Linked DNA regions of Homo sapiens: region 1 is linked to region 2. Evidence: promoter capture Hi-C in human tissues and cell types (Jung and others, 2019). All regions are on one chromosome and are shown on one strand. Each heading gives the region's core, a stretch centred on a gene start or on the middle of the fragment in contact. The rest is flanking DNA. Distances are from core to core; before and after follow the strand shown. Region 1 overlaps ANKMY1 (ankyrin repeat and MYND domain containing 1). Region 2 holds the start of SNED1 (sushi, nidogen and EGF like domains 1).

Evidence for each region. The method cuts DNA at HindIII sites, captures the fragments that hold promoters and counts their contacts. A contact is called where the count stands out against the background at its distance.
Region 1: a contact is called between a fragment that was not itself captured here and the fragment with the promoter of SNED1 in region 2, in 1 of the 25 tissues and cell types used here (H1 embryonic stem cells).

What each region holds. Positions count from the first base shown.
Region 1 is chr2:240,547,466-240,553,652 of GRCh38, forward strand. It overlaps ANKMY1 (ankyrin repeat and MYND domain containing 1), which reads right to left. Exons shown (of 18, transcript NM_001282771.3): 4 at 5,449-5,592. Among named protein-coding and RNA genes, the nearest start is that of ANKMY1, 7.4 kb to the right of the region's middle. RefSeq lists a silencer at 4,409-4,508. The HindIII fragment of the contact is 6,176 bases long and covers 1-5,919 here.
Region 2 is chr2:240,995,382-241,000,859 of GRCh38, forward strand. It overlaps SNED1 (sushi, nidogen and EGF like domains 1), which reads left to right and starts at 3,237. Exons shown (of 32, transcript NM_001080437.3): 1 at 3,237-3,669. The coding sequence starts at 3,457. RefSeq lists a silencer at 2,869-3,288. The HindIII fragment of the contact is 20,006 bases long and covers 685-5,478 here.

The DNA of each region.
Region 1 (6,187 bases), core at 1,582-4,081, 450 kb before region 2:
AGCAAACACATTCAAAAGCTAGCAGAAGGCAAGAAATAACTAAAATCAGAGCAGAACTGAAGGAAATAGAGACACAAAAAACCCTTCAAAAAATTAATGAATCCAGGAGCTGGTTTTTTGAAAGGATCAACAAAATTGATAGACTGCTAGCAAGACTAATAAAGAAAAAAAGAGAGAAGAATCAAATAGATGCAATAAAAAATGATAAAGGGGATATCACCACCGATCCCACAGAAATACAAACTACCATCAGAGAATACTACAAACACCTCTACGCAAATAAACTAGAAAATCTAGAAGAAATGGATAAATTCCTCAACACATACACTCTCCCAAGACTAAACCAGGAAGAAGTTGAATCTCTGAATAGACCAATAACAGGAGCTGAAATTGTGGCAATAATCAATAGTTTACCAACCAAAAAGAGTCCAGGACCAGATGGATTCACAGCCGAATTCTACCAGAGGTACAAGGGGGAACTGGTACCATTCCTTCTGAAGCTATTCGAATCAATAAAAAAAGAGGGAATCCTCCCTAACTCATTTTATGAGGCCAGCATCATCCTGATACCAAAGCCGGGCAGAGACACAACCAAAAAAGAGAATTTTAGACCAATATCCTTGATGAACATTGATGCAAAAATCCTCAATAAAATACTGCCAAACCGAATCCAGCAGCACATCAAAAAGCTTATCCACCATGATCAAGTGGGCTTCATCCCTGGGATGCAAGGGTGGTTCAATATACGCAAATCAGTAAATGTAATCCAGCGTATAAACAGAACCAAAGACAAAAACCACATGATTATCTCACTAGATGCAGAAAAGACCTTTGACAAAATTCAACAACACTTCACGCTAAAAACTCTCAATAAATTAGGTATTGATGGGACGTATCTCAAAATAATAAGAGCTATCTATGACAAACCCACAGCCAGTATCATACTGAATGGGCAAAAACTGGAAGCATTCCCTTTGAAAACGGGCACAAGACAGGGATGCCCTCTCTCACCACTCCTATTCAACATAGTGTTGGAAGTTCTGGCCAGGGCAATTAGGCAGGAGAAGGAAATAAAGGGTATTCAATTAGGAAAAGAGGAAGCCAAATTGTCCCTGTTTGCAGACGACATGATTGTATATCTAGAAAACCCCATTGTCTCAGCCCAAAATCTCCTTAAGCTGATAAGCAACTTCAGCAAAGTCTCAGGATACAAAATCAATGTACAAAAATCAAAAGCATTCTTATACACCAACAACAGACAAACAGAGAGCCAAATCATGAGTGAACTCCCATTCACAATTGCTTCAAAGAGAATAAAATACCTAGGAATCCAACTTACAAGGGATGTGAAGGACCTCTTCAAGGAGAACTACAAACCACTGCTCAAGGAAATAAAAGAGGATACAAACAAATGGAAGAACATTCCATGCTCATTGGGAGGAAGAATCAATATCGTGAAAATGGCCATACTGCCCAAGGTAATTTACAGATTCAATGCCATCCCCATCAAGCTACCAATGACTTTCTTCACAAAATTGGAAAAAACTACTTTAAAGTTCATATGGAATCAAAAAAGAGCCCGCATCGCCAAGTCAATCCTAAGCCAAAAGAACAAAGCTGGAGGCATCACACTACCTGACTTCAAACTATACTACAAGGCTACAGTAACCAAAACAGCATGGGACTGGTACCAAAACAGAGATATAGATCAATGGAACAGAACAGAGCCCTCAGAAATAACGCCGCATATCTACAACTATCTGATCTTTGACAAACCTGAGAAAAACAAGCAATGGGGAAAGGATTCCCTATTTAATAAATGGTGCTGGGAAAACTGGCTAGCCATATGTAGAAAGCTGAAACTGGATCCCTTCCTTACACCTTATACAAAAATCAATTCAAGATGGATTAAAGACTTAAACGTTAGACCTAAAACCATAAAAACCCTAGAAGAAACCTAGGCATTACCATTCAGGACATAGGCATGGGCAACGACTTCATGTCTAAAACACCAAAAGCAATGGCAACAAAAGCCAAAATTGACAAATGGGATCTAATTAAATTAAAGAGCTTCTGCACAGCAAAAGAAACTACCATCAGAGTAAACAGGCAACCTACAAAATGGGAGAAAATTTTCACAACCTACTCATCTGACAAAGGGCTAATATCCAGAATCTACAATGAACTCAAAACAAATTTACAAGAAAAAAACAAACAACCCCATCAAAAAGTGGGTGAAGGACATGAACAGACACTTCTCAAAAGAAGACATTTATGCAGCCAAAAAACACATGAAAAAATGTTCACCATCACTGGCTATCAGAGAAATGCAAATCAAAACCACAATGAGATACCATCTCACACCAGTTAGAATGGCAATCATTAAAAAGTCAGGAAACAACAGGTGCTGGAGAGGATGTGGAGAAACAGGAACACTTTTACACTGTTGGTGGGACTGTAAACTAGTTCAACCATTGTGGAAGTCAGTGTGGCGATTCCTCAGGGATCTAGAACTAGAAATACCATTTGACCCAGCCATCCCATTACCGGGTATATACCCAAAGGACTATAAATCATGCTGCTATAAAGACACATGCACACGTATGTTTATTGTGGCATTATTCACAATAGCAAAGACTTGGAACCAACCCAAATGTCCAACAATGATAGACTGGATTAAGAAAATGTGGCATATATACACCATGGAATACTATGCAGCCATAAAAAATGAGTTCACATCCTTTGTAGGGACATGGATGAAATTGGAAATCATCATTCTCGGTAAACTATCGCAAGAACAAAAAACCAAACACCGCGTATTCTCACTCATAGGCGGGAATTGAACAACGAGAACACATGGACACAGGAAGGGGAACATCACACTCTGGGGACTGCTGTGGGGTGGGGGGAGGGGGGAGGGATAGCATTGGGAGATATACCTAATGCTAGATGACGAGTTAGTGGGTGCAGCATACCAGCATGGCACATGTATACATATGTAACTAACCTGCACATTGTGCACATGTACCCTGAAACTTAAAGTATAATAATAATAAATTTAAAAAAAAAGATCTTACTCTTGATGAAGGTAAATTTTTGATCTTAAATTAACTTTTTTTGGATATTAGGCTTCCTGAAGTCCAAGAAAGACATATTAGGCTTATTTGTTATATTAGAATTATACCGGAAGCATTGTAAATTGTGAGGTGGTATTTAACTTTCTTTGGGTTTTATTTATATACATGTTATTAATATGTGTTCCAGGATTTATGACATTCTTGAAATTCTAATATGTTTAAATATATGTTGTCAACAATAGTTAATGATTATTATGTTAAATTGTTGTATGACACAGAAATAACCAAATTTCCTTGTCATCTCTATCTTTTGACTATGGCTGCCTTAAGACTTTTGTCATCCACAATTGTTTTGCTTTGATCTTTCTCAAAAAAAGTGACTTGTAATCAGCTACCGTCCAGGGCTTGCTTCTTTGGGGGAGTTCCTGAAAAGGACTATTGAATTCAGGTGTCTGATAACTTTGGCGATTGTGCCACTGGATGAGAGAGAAAACTTCCACTGCACTAATTGGAAGGCTGATGTGTTCATAAACATTGCTCACCCAATATGACACAGGGCAGGAGCTGACTGCATGGACTCAGCTAACAGAACACTGGAATGCTTTTTATGTTTTTTTTTTTTTTGAAATATTGCTGATTCTTCTTTTGTCTTTCAGAGTCAGGATAATTTTTTTCTTTTGAGCTATTCATAACCTTGAAATATACTTTAAGTGTACTGAGTAGAGTATACATTTGTAAACAAAATTTGAGTCATATTTCTCTCTGCCTAATTTCTCCAGAATTTTTAAACTATTTGTGAATATTCTTAATTCATGGCAACGTGTTTGTTTGCATATGTTTAATAAGAATCTGTTTTATTTTATAATGGGACACAGCTGGGGGAACTGGTTATTTTCCCAAGGCTTTAACTGAAATGGCCTTGCGAGAGGTTCCGGCAAAGCCAGTTTAGGACAGCCTATGCGAACCACAGTTCTTGCTGTGCTTTGTGTGGGTGATCAGGGCACCAGGAAACTGAAGCTTATTTTGCAAGTAGGTTGTCCTACTGTTATTTGTCTTTGATGCAAGTGGGGGAATGGAAAGAGATTGTCTTTTAGAAGAAAACTCTATTTAGATTAACCTTTGATTCCTAAGTGACCACATGGTCACCCATGGTATGGAGCTGCCCACAACGCCCCTCCTCAGCATGGAGCAGCCAGAAAGACCCACAACCTGATTCCCCATGGTTGAGGAACTGATAAACAAAAAGGGGGGACTGAAACCAGCCCAGTAATCCTACAGAGAGTTGTTTCCAGATAAACATAGAAATTGACCCTTCTGGTCTTAAAGCTTGAAACTTAAATTTGTTTTATCTGAGTTTCTTCCTCAGGAAAGACCTTCAGGCCTCTCAAAAAGTATCAAAGAGCTGAAACTCCTCTCAGAAAGTATCAAAGAACTGAAACTCACCAGACCATGGCATTCAATGTGACTCCAGGCCCTTTGTTCACCGTGACTGCTTCCTCACCCCTCCCAAGTTCCTGCTTTCTCACACATTATTACATTTCTTCCTTGATATATAAACCCCTAGTTTTAGTCAGGGGGATGGATTTGAGATTAAGCTCCCATCTCTTCAGCTGCACCTCCAAATTACAGCCTTCTTCCTTGGCAATACTCATTGTCTCAGTGATGGGCTTTCTGTGCAGGAAGCGGAAAGATCTAGAGCGAACCCCTGGTGTTTCAGTAACAGCCACTCATATTGGCTCAGAATAAACCTCTTTAAAATATTTTGCAGAGTTTGTTTTTTTTCTGTTGACACCATTAATATGGCATTCTCACAAGGGCAAAATTCTAGGCCAAAATAGATCAGCCACAGTTTGTTGAAGGAGACATTTATTACAAAGGCCATGGCAATATTTTGAGGGTGATGGAACTGTTTGTATATCCTGACTACAGTAGTAGTTACACAACCCTGTAATTGTCAAAAATTTCAGAACTATATATTAAAATGGGTGAATTTTACTGTAAATTATACTGTAATAAAAGGGGGAAAGGCATCTGTATTTGAAAGACTAGGCATGTTCTCCATTTAAAAAGGCACATTTCAAACATTATGTGTACAGTGATCCAGTTTACATATTTAAAAATAAACACGTGCGTTTCTTAAATCTAAAGGACATGTAACAATTTGCTGGTATCCCTCTGGGGAATAAAATGCAAGGAGGCTTTTATTTTCAGTCTATATCCTTATTATTGGTACCATTTTAATCATTAAAAGTAAAAAAGCTACTTGTAGCTAAACAAATAAACTTCCCCAGGACCGAAATATCTTTTTGTCCAGTGGCTTAGACACACACAGCCACTTCGACCCCAGCTGAACACATGGCAGCCCCCTCACCTGGAAAAGCCGTGTCTTCATGTACATGGTGCCGTAGCCTTCTCGGTGGCTGAGGTAAAATGTGCCCGTGAAACTGGAGCCATCTGGCCACATGTAGGTACCCAGGCCATGGCAGTGGTCCCGGTAAAACTGCCCATGGTATGACTGTGAGATGGAGAAGTTGGTGAGAAATTGCTGCTCTTCCAGAACCTGACGGGATGCCCTTGAGGCTGAGCCACCATGCCTGGTTGGCAATGAATGGGGACCACCCAGGGCTGTGGCAGAACTCAGGGATGCCTGGCATGCGACTATTAGAGTCGGCAACTGAAGCACCCAGAGGGGTTACCAGGCAGTCAGCCTGATAGCCAGGCTCCCTCTCTGTCTTCTCCTCAGGTGGGGGACTGTGGGGAGGCTTAAAACTACCTAGACATCCTGAGTCAGGAGAGCACGGACATGCCTTCTCCCTGGTGACCTTGATCTTAGGTTTGGAGGGTCCTGTCCCCACTCAGGAGCCCCATGCTGCTGAGCTCCCTGCCAGGTTCACAGGTGACAGGCTGGCCCTGGAAGGCTGGCTGTAGGCCCCAGTAGGCACAGGGGAGGACTCTGATTTATAACTCTTCAGCACTGGTTGGACACGTGAGCTCCACAAACAACAGGAGTGAGTGTATCAGAGCCTGCCCCTTTACCAAGGCCCCCAGAGGGAAAAAGAATGTGACATTTGGCCGGGTGTGGTGGCTCACATCTGTAATTCCAGCACTTT
Region 2 (5,478 bases), core at 1,987-4,486:
CGGCTCCGTGTGCATGAGAAGAGGAGGTACAGGGCAGGCTGCATGGCCCCCACACTCCCTCAGGGCCAACTGCACCAAGACCCCAACCAGCCACACAGGACAGTGACCAGGTGAGCAGGTGGAGCGGCCCTTGGTCCCTGTGACCTCCTGGCCTCATTCCGGAGCATGTGGAGGTTTACTTGGGATCAGCGCTTCTGGGGCAGGGGACCTGCACTCCACCTGCCACTTCTGGGAGAGAAGGAGAGAAAGTTAGGGTGGGCTACAGCCAGCCAGCCCCTGCCCCTGGCAGCTCAGGCCTGAACCCCCAGGATCTTCCACCCTGTGAAGACCAAACAGGCCCAGCCAACCAGGTGCAGGTTGGGGAGGGCACCCCCACCTTGGCCTGCGTGGAGCCCCGAGTCCTGGGGCATCCTGAGGGCAGCTCCCGGGGCACCCCATCTAAATTGCACACACGCTCAGGCCCTAAATTAAAATGTCACAGGCCGGTTGGGGAGGCTCGGGTTTCCTGGCCACAGAACATGAGCCTGCTTGATAAAACAATTTTGGTTTTGATAAATGTGGATTTTCTGTGGCAGAGACAAAGGCGCCCTTGAGTCCAGAGGGGAGCCTAAAACAGCACATTGCTGAAAAGTATTTCCTGATAATATTTTTAGCACCTGAGAAAAACATTTTTTTTTCTCTTTTTTGCCTGCAGAGTTGTGTTGTTTTTTTTTTGTTTTTTTTTTTTTTAATGAAATGTAATGCCCAGCAGCAGCGGGGCCTTTTGTTAACCCCCAGCTCCCCGGGCCCGGCTGAAAATCTGCACAGGGTGCAGGCCGAGGCTGGTCAGCAGGGTACAGGCCCGAGGAAGTGTGGCCTCTCTGGGCCATGAGCAGGGTCTGGCCCACTGCCAGCCACGCCCCAGGCCCATGAGCTCTGACTCTCTGGGACGAGGACGGGCCTGAGCGTTTCCAGCACTGCTCAGCGACCCCCGTGAGGCCCACCAGCCCACCCGCCTGAAGAAACAGGCCTCCACTCGGTGCAGCCACTGAGTGCCACTGTGTGCCCCAAGGTGCCCTGGGCGGCCCTGCCCCCAAGTTGACCCAAACCCAGCCCAGAAATGGGTTGTTACCCAGGTCCCTGTCTTGTGTGCTCAAGAGAAGGTCAGCAGTGGGGAGAAGGGCGCCTGGCCTGGGCAGCTGGCTGGGAGGCAGCACCCCAGGCTGGGCTCTGAGAGCAGAGCAGGAGCATGTGGTGGGAAGTGGATGGGTAGTAGGGACAGGGCAGGAGGTGGGCCAGCCCTAGTGGGGGTCAAAGCCTCACGTCCCCATGACAACACCTCTTCAGCGGAGAAATCCTGCCCTGGGGTTGGCACTGCCGCCTCCCACCTTCGCAAACTCACCGGAGGGGCCTTCCAGCCAGGCCCCAAATGCACTGAAAAGAGGGTAGAGGGCTGCCAGGTTTTTCTAGAAAAAAGACAAATAGAAAAGCGTTCTCCCTGATTCCCGCCACGGTGACGCCTGGCAGCTCTGTTCCCAACGCTGCTACATGGGGCCTTGTCCTGACTCCACGGCCTGTGCCAGCCAGAGGTGGGAGCAGCCCTCCCTGACCAGGGAGGCCAGGGCTGGGCTGAGGAAGGGGTTAAAGCATGTTCTTGAGGCCCCACGTATGGGCATATGCTGCCTCCGTGCATGTGAATAAGTATGCATGTGTGCGTGGACGTGTGTGCATGTGCGTGGAGACATGTCTCTCCTTGCCAGGCTCTCACCGAGAGCCGGCCTCAAGTAGGGATTCTACAGTTCCACGCCCTCTCTGGTGCCTCCCTCCAAAGACAGGAGGCCTTGACCTTTCTGGCCCTGGAACCATGGCTGTGCTGCTGTCCTGGAGCTCTGAAAGCTGGGACGGTGACCTAAGGGCTAACTGCGGGACAGAGCCCTTCCCCTCCCAGGCCCAGTTTGCCTCTCTGCAAACAGAATTGCCACCCCATGCAGGGTGGGAGAGGCGCCAGGGGCAAGCTTTCAGGAGGTGCCAGTGCAGGGTCAGCTCCTCCTTAACAATTCTGCACCCGGCCCTGACACCAAGTCTAAAGGGTCATGAACCTCTGAGTGAAAACACCAAGTGCAGGATCTGTGAGAACCGGCAACACCCAGTCACACGCAGAGAACCCTCCGCTGCTTCTTAAAAATAACATTGACTGTGCCTGGCTCTCACTGAAAAACAACACGTGCTCACTTGAGATATTTCAGAAGATACAAACGCAAAGACAAACAAAAAACCACCCAGCACCTCAGTGGTAGATGCAGTTACCATCAGCCCGGCCTTTCCTGCTTGTCTTCGAGGGGTGCACTCTTATCTTTGGGGGCCCCAGTGTGGCACGCAGCCAACACCACCCAACACCAGGATCTAAGAGAAGAGACCACGGTGGGCCGGGTGAGTTCCAGGAATCAGACCCTGCCATGGGCCTGGGGACATAGAGGTGGTCCCGGCTGAGGCCCTGAGGAAGGACAGACAGGCAGCCCAGGCCAGCAGCCCAAGAGACAGGGGGCAGGGCTGGCAGGCCACAGGGTGGGGACCCTGAATTCAAATACTGGGACTCAGAGTCCTGCCCCCACCTGCCAAGGCCGGTGTCATGCACGCACTTGCCCCCAGGGCCTGAGTGGGTCAGTCTTCCCCACGGAGGGTTTGCTTTACCCAGGGGTCGCCCCGAGGTCCCGAGCCTCCCAGGAATTTCTCCTGATGCGGCCACGCAGATGCAAACACTTTGTTCCATGCCTCCTAGTCTCCGGCCCGGGCTCTTCCTCACACAGACCCAGGCAGGGAGTGGGCTCCGGGGTTAGTCTGCCCCTGTGGCTGGAAGCCTGGCGTCCCCATGCTCAGGGCTGGGAAGGGGGCAGCACGGAACGGGTTCATTCAGGCACTGCCTGGCCAGGGTCCCCTCCCGCCCCCCGCGTGATGACACGCCTTCAGGGCGGGCCCAGCGTCTCAGGCCTTAGGGACACAGGTCTGTCCCAGGACGGCACTGAGGGCCCAGGCGCCTCCACCAGGGTAGGGACCCAGGGCGGAGCATGGCCCCACCACAGGGCGCGCGCCCGCAGAGCCCTCACCTTGCCTGTGCCCACGCCAGGGGACTGAGCTCCCCGCGCGCCCGCGCCCTCCCACGGGGCCTGGCGCTTTAAGAGACGCCCGATTTGCATGGCCCCGCCCCCCCGAGTGACCGCCGGGCTGGATATTTAAATCGTGGCCCCAGGGGCGGGGCTGGCCCCGAACGCGGTCCCGCCCGGCGCTTTCCTCTGCGGAGCTGCGGCGAGAGCGCGGCCCGGCCGAACGGGCGCGGGACGCGGAGCCCCCGACGGCGCGGCCAGCGGGCGCGCCCGCGCTCCCCGCACCCCGCCTGGCCCTGCCGGCCACCCCCGCGCGCAGCCTAGTCCCCCAGCGCCCTGCTCCGCCAGCGCCCCGTCCCGCCCGCACACCTCCGCGATGCGGCACGGCGTCGCCTGGGCGCTGCTGGTGGCCGCGGCCCTGGGGCTTGGGGCGCGCGGGGTGCGCGGCGCGGTGGCCCTTGCCGACTTCTACCCGTTCGGCGCCGAGCGCGGCGACGCCGTCACCCCCAAGCAGGACGACGGCGGCTCGGGGCTGCGGCCGCTCTCGGTGCCCTTCCCGTTCTTCGGTGCCGAGCACTCCGGACTCTACGTGAGTAACCCCCGGGCTCGCGGGGCGCCCGGGAGGGGAGGGAGCTGCGCCCCGGCCGCTGCCCGCCGGGCCCGGACTCCCGCCGCCGCCGCCAGCCACTTGGCACCGGGGCGGCCCGAGGTGGAATGAGGACAGCGCTTCCTCCTCGGCGGCCAAGGCCGGACAGCGGCCCGCGGGAGAGGCGCGCGGGCGGGGCGGGGGCGGCAGCCGCCGGGCACCGAGGCGGGGGCGAGTGGAGCGCGGCGCCCCGGCCCCTGCCAGACCTGCCGAGCGCGTCTTCCCGGCGCCTGATTCCCAGGGGAGAGCAGGGGTCCTGGTACTGCCCTGGTTTTCACACATGGCAATGTGGCCGTGGGCACGGGCTTCCCGGGCCTCAGTTTCCCAAGTGGGGCGCCGGGCCTGCGAAGGTTGCAGCCCCTCCTTGGGCCATTTCAGCCCCGCCCCCCGTGGACGCCAGTGCGGCCCAGAGCCAGGAGGCTGGACCCCTTGCCCAGGCGCTCAGGGCAGGGCCTGCTTCTTCGCTGACCCTCCTAGGCGGGCTAGCAACAGGCTTGCCCCTCCCTGCCGTCCTCTCCGCAGTCTGGGGGCTGGCCGCTCAGGCTCAGACTCTCCAAACAGGACTCCCAGTGGGACTCCTGGGGCCAGGGACTCATGACAGCAGGCTCAGCTCAGCTGAAGGAACAGGCCCGAGTGCCGGTTCTGTCTCCATGGCTCCCAGAGTGTGACCCCAGGCCAAGCCCTTATGGCAGCCCAGGGAATGAAATGCACCTGGTAACTGCATGGAGCACTCGCCCTGAGTAGGCCACGGTGCACTGGTACCTGGTGGTTCCCTGAAACACCCCAGATCATATCTAGAAAACTGCTGGGCCAGCCTCAAGTAGAGTCCCCTCCAGCTCCGTCACCACGGCCACCTCCACCATCAGCCCTCTCATACCCTCGCCCACCTCCAGCCTCAACCCACTGCCAGCCACATCGCCTCTGCCATCTGTGCTGCCCGGAGTAACACCACCTGTACTGCCAACTCCTCCGTCAACACCACCTCCTTCAACCCCACCACCAGCAGCACTGCCTCCACCACCACCTTCCCCATGGTCCCCAGCTTCCCGTCGTCACCATCCACATCCTCTGCATGGTTGTCATCATCCCTCCCCACCTCCATCCACAGGGCCTCCTCCACCACATGCCCTCTAGTGCGCCTCCCACCCCACAACTGCCAACACCATCCACAGCGCCCACTGCGTTTTCCACACCTGCTCAGGAAGGCCTCCCCACCTCGGTGGCAGCACTGGGTGACCTGACTGGTGGGAGGGGCAGCCATGCTGTCGGTGCTACCCCCTGAAAGTCCCTCTGGACCGGGACTTGGACAGAGGAACGGGACTGACTCCTGGAAGTACGAAGTGGGTAGGACAGAATGGTGCTCAGCGTTGGCCCGAGCTGGAGGAGGCCTGTCCACTTGAGGTATGGGACACTCACATTGGCACCATCCGAACAGAACTCAAGAGGCTCCTTAAGCATTTGGGCCAGGCTCAGCTTTCCCACTCACAGTCACAGGTGAAAATATTATTAAAATGGTTAACCCACTTAACAGCCTCACCAAAAACATCTGCCCTTGCCAGAGCAACTAGGGGAAACAGCTCTAACGTGGGAAGATCTGCTAGGAGAACTAGGGTTTCGTCAGAAATGAACCTTCTGGCTGCTAACAAAACATTTATCTCCATCGGAGCTTTTTCCTGAAACAAAGATATTATTTGAAAACCATTTGCCGATGTGGACACAGTGCCTGCAGTGCACTTCACCTTTCTGTTTGCT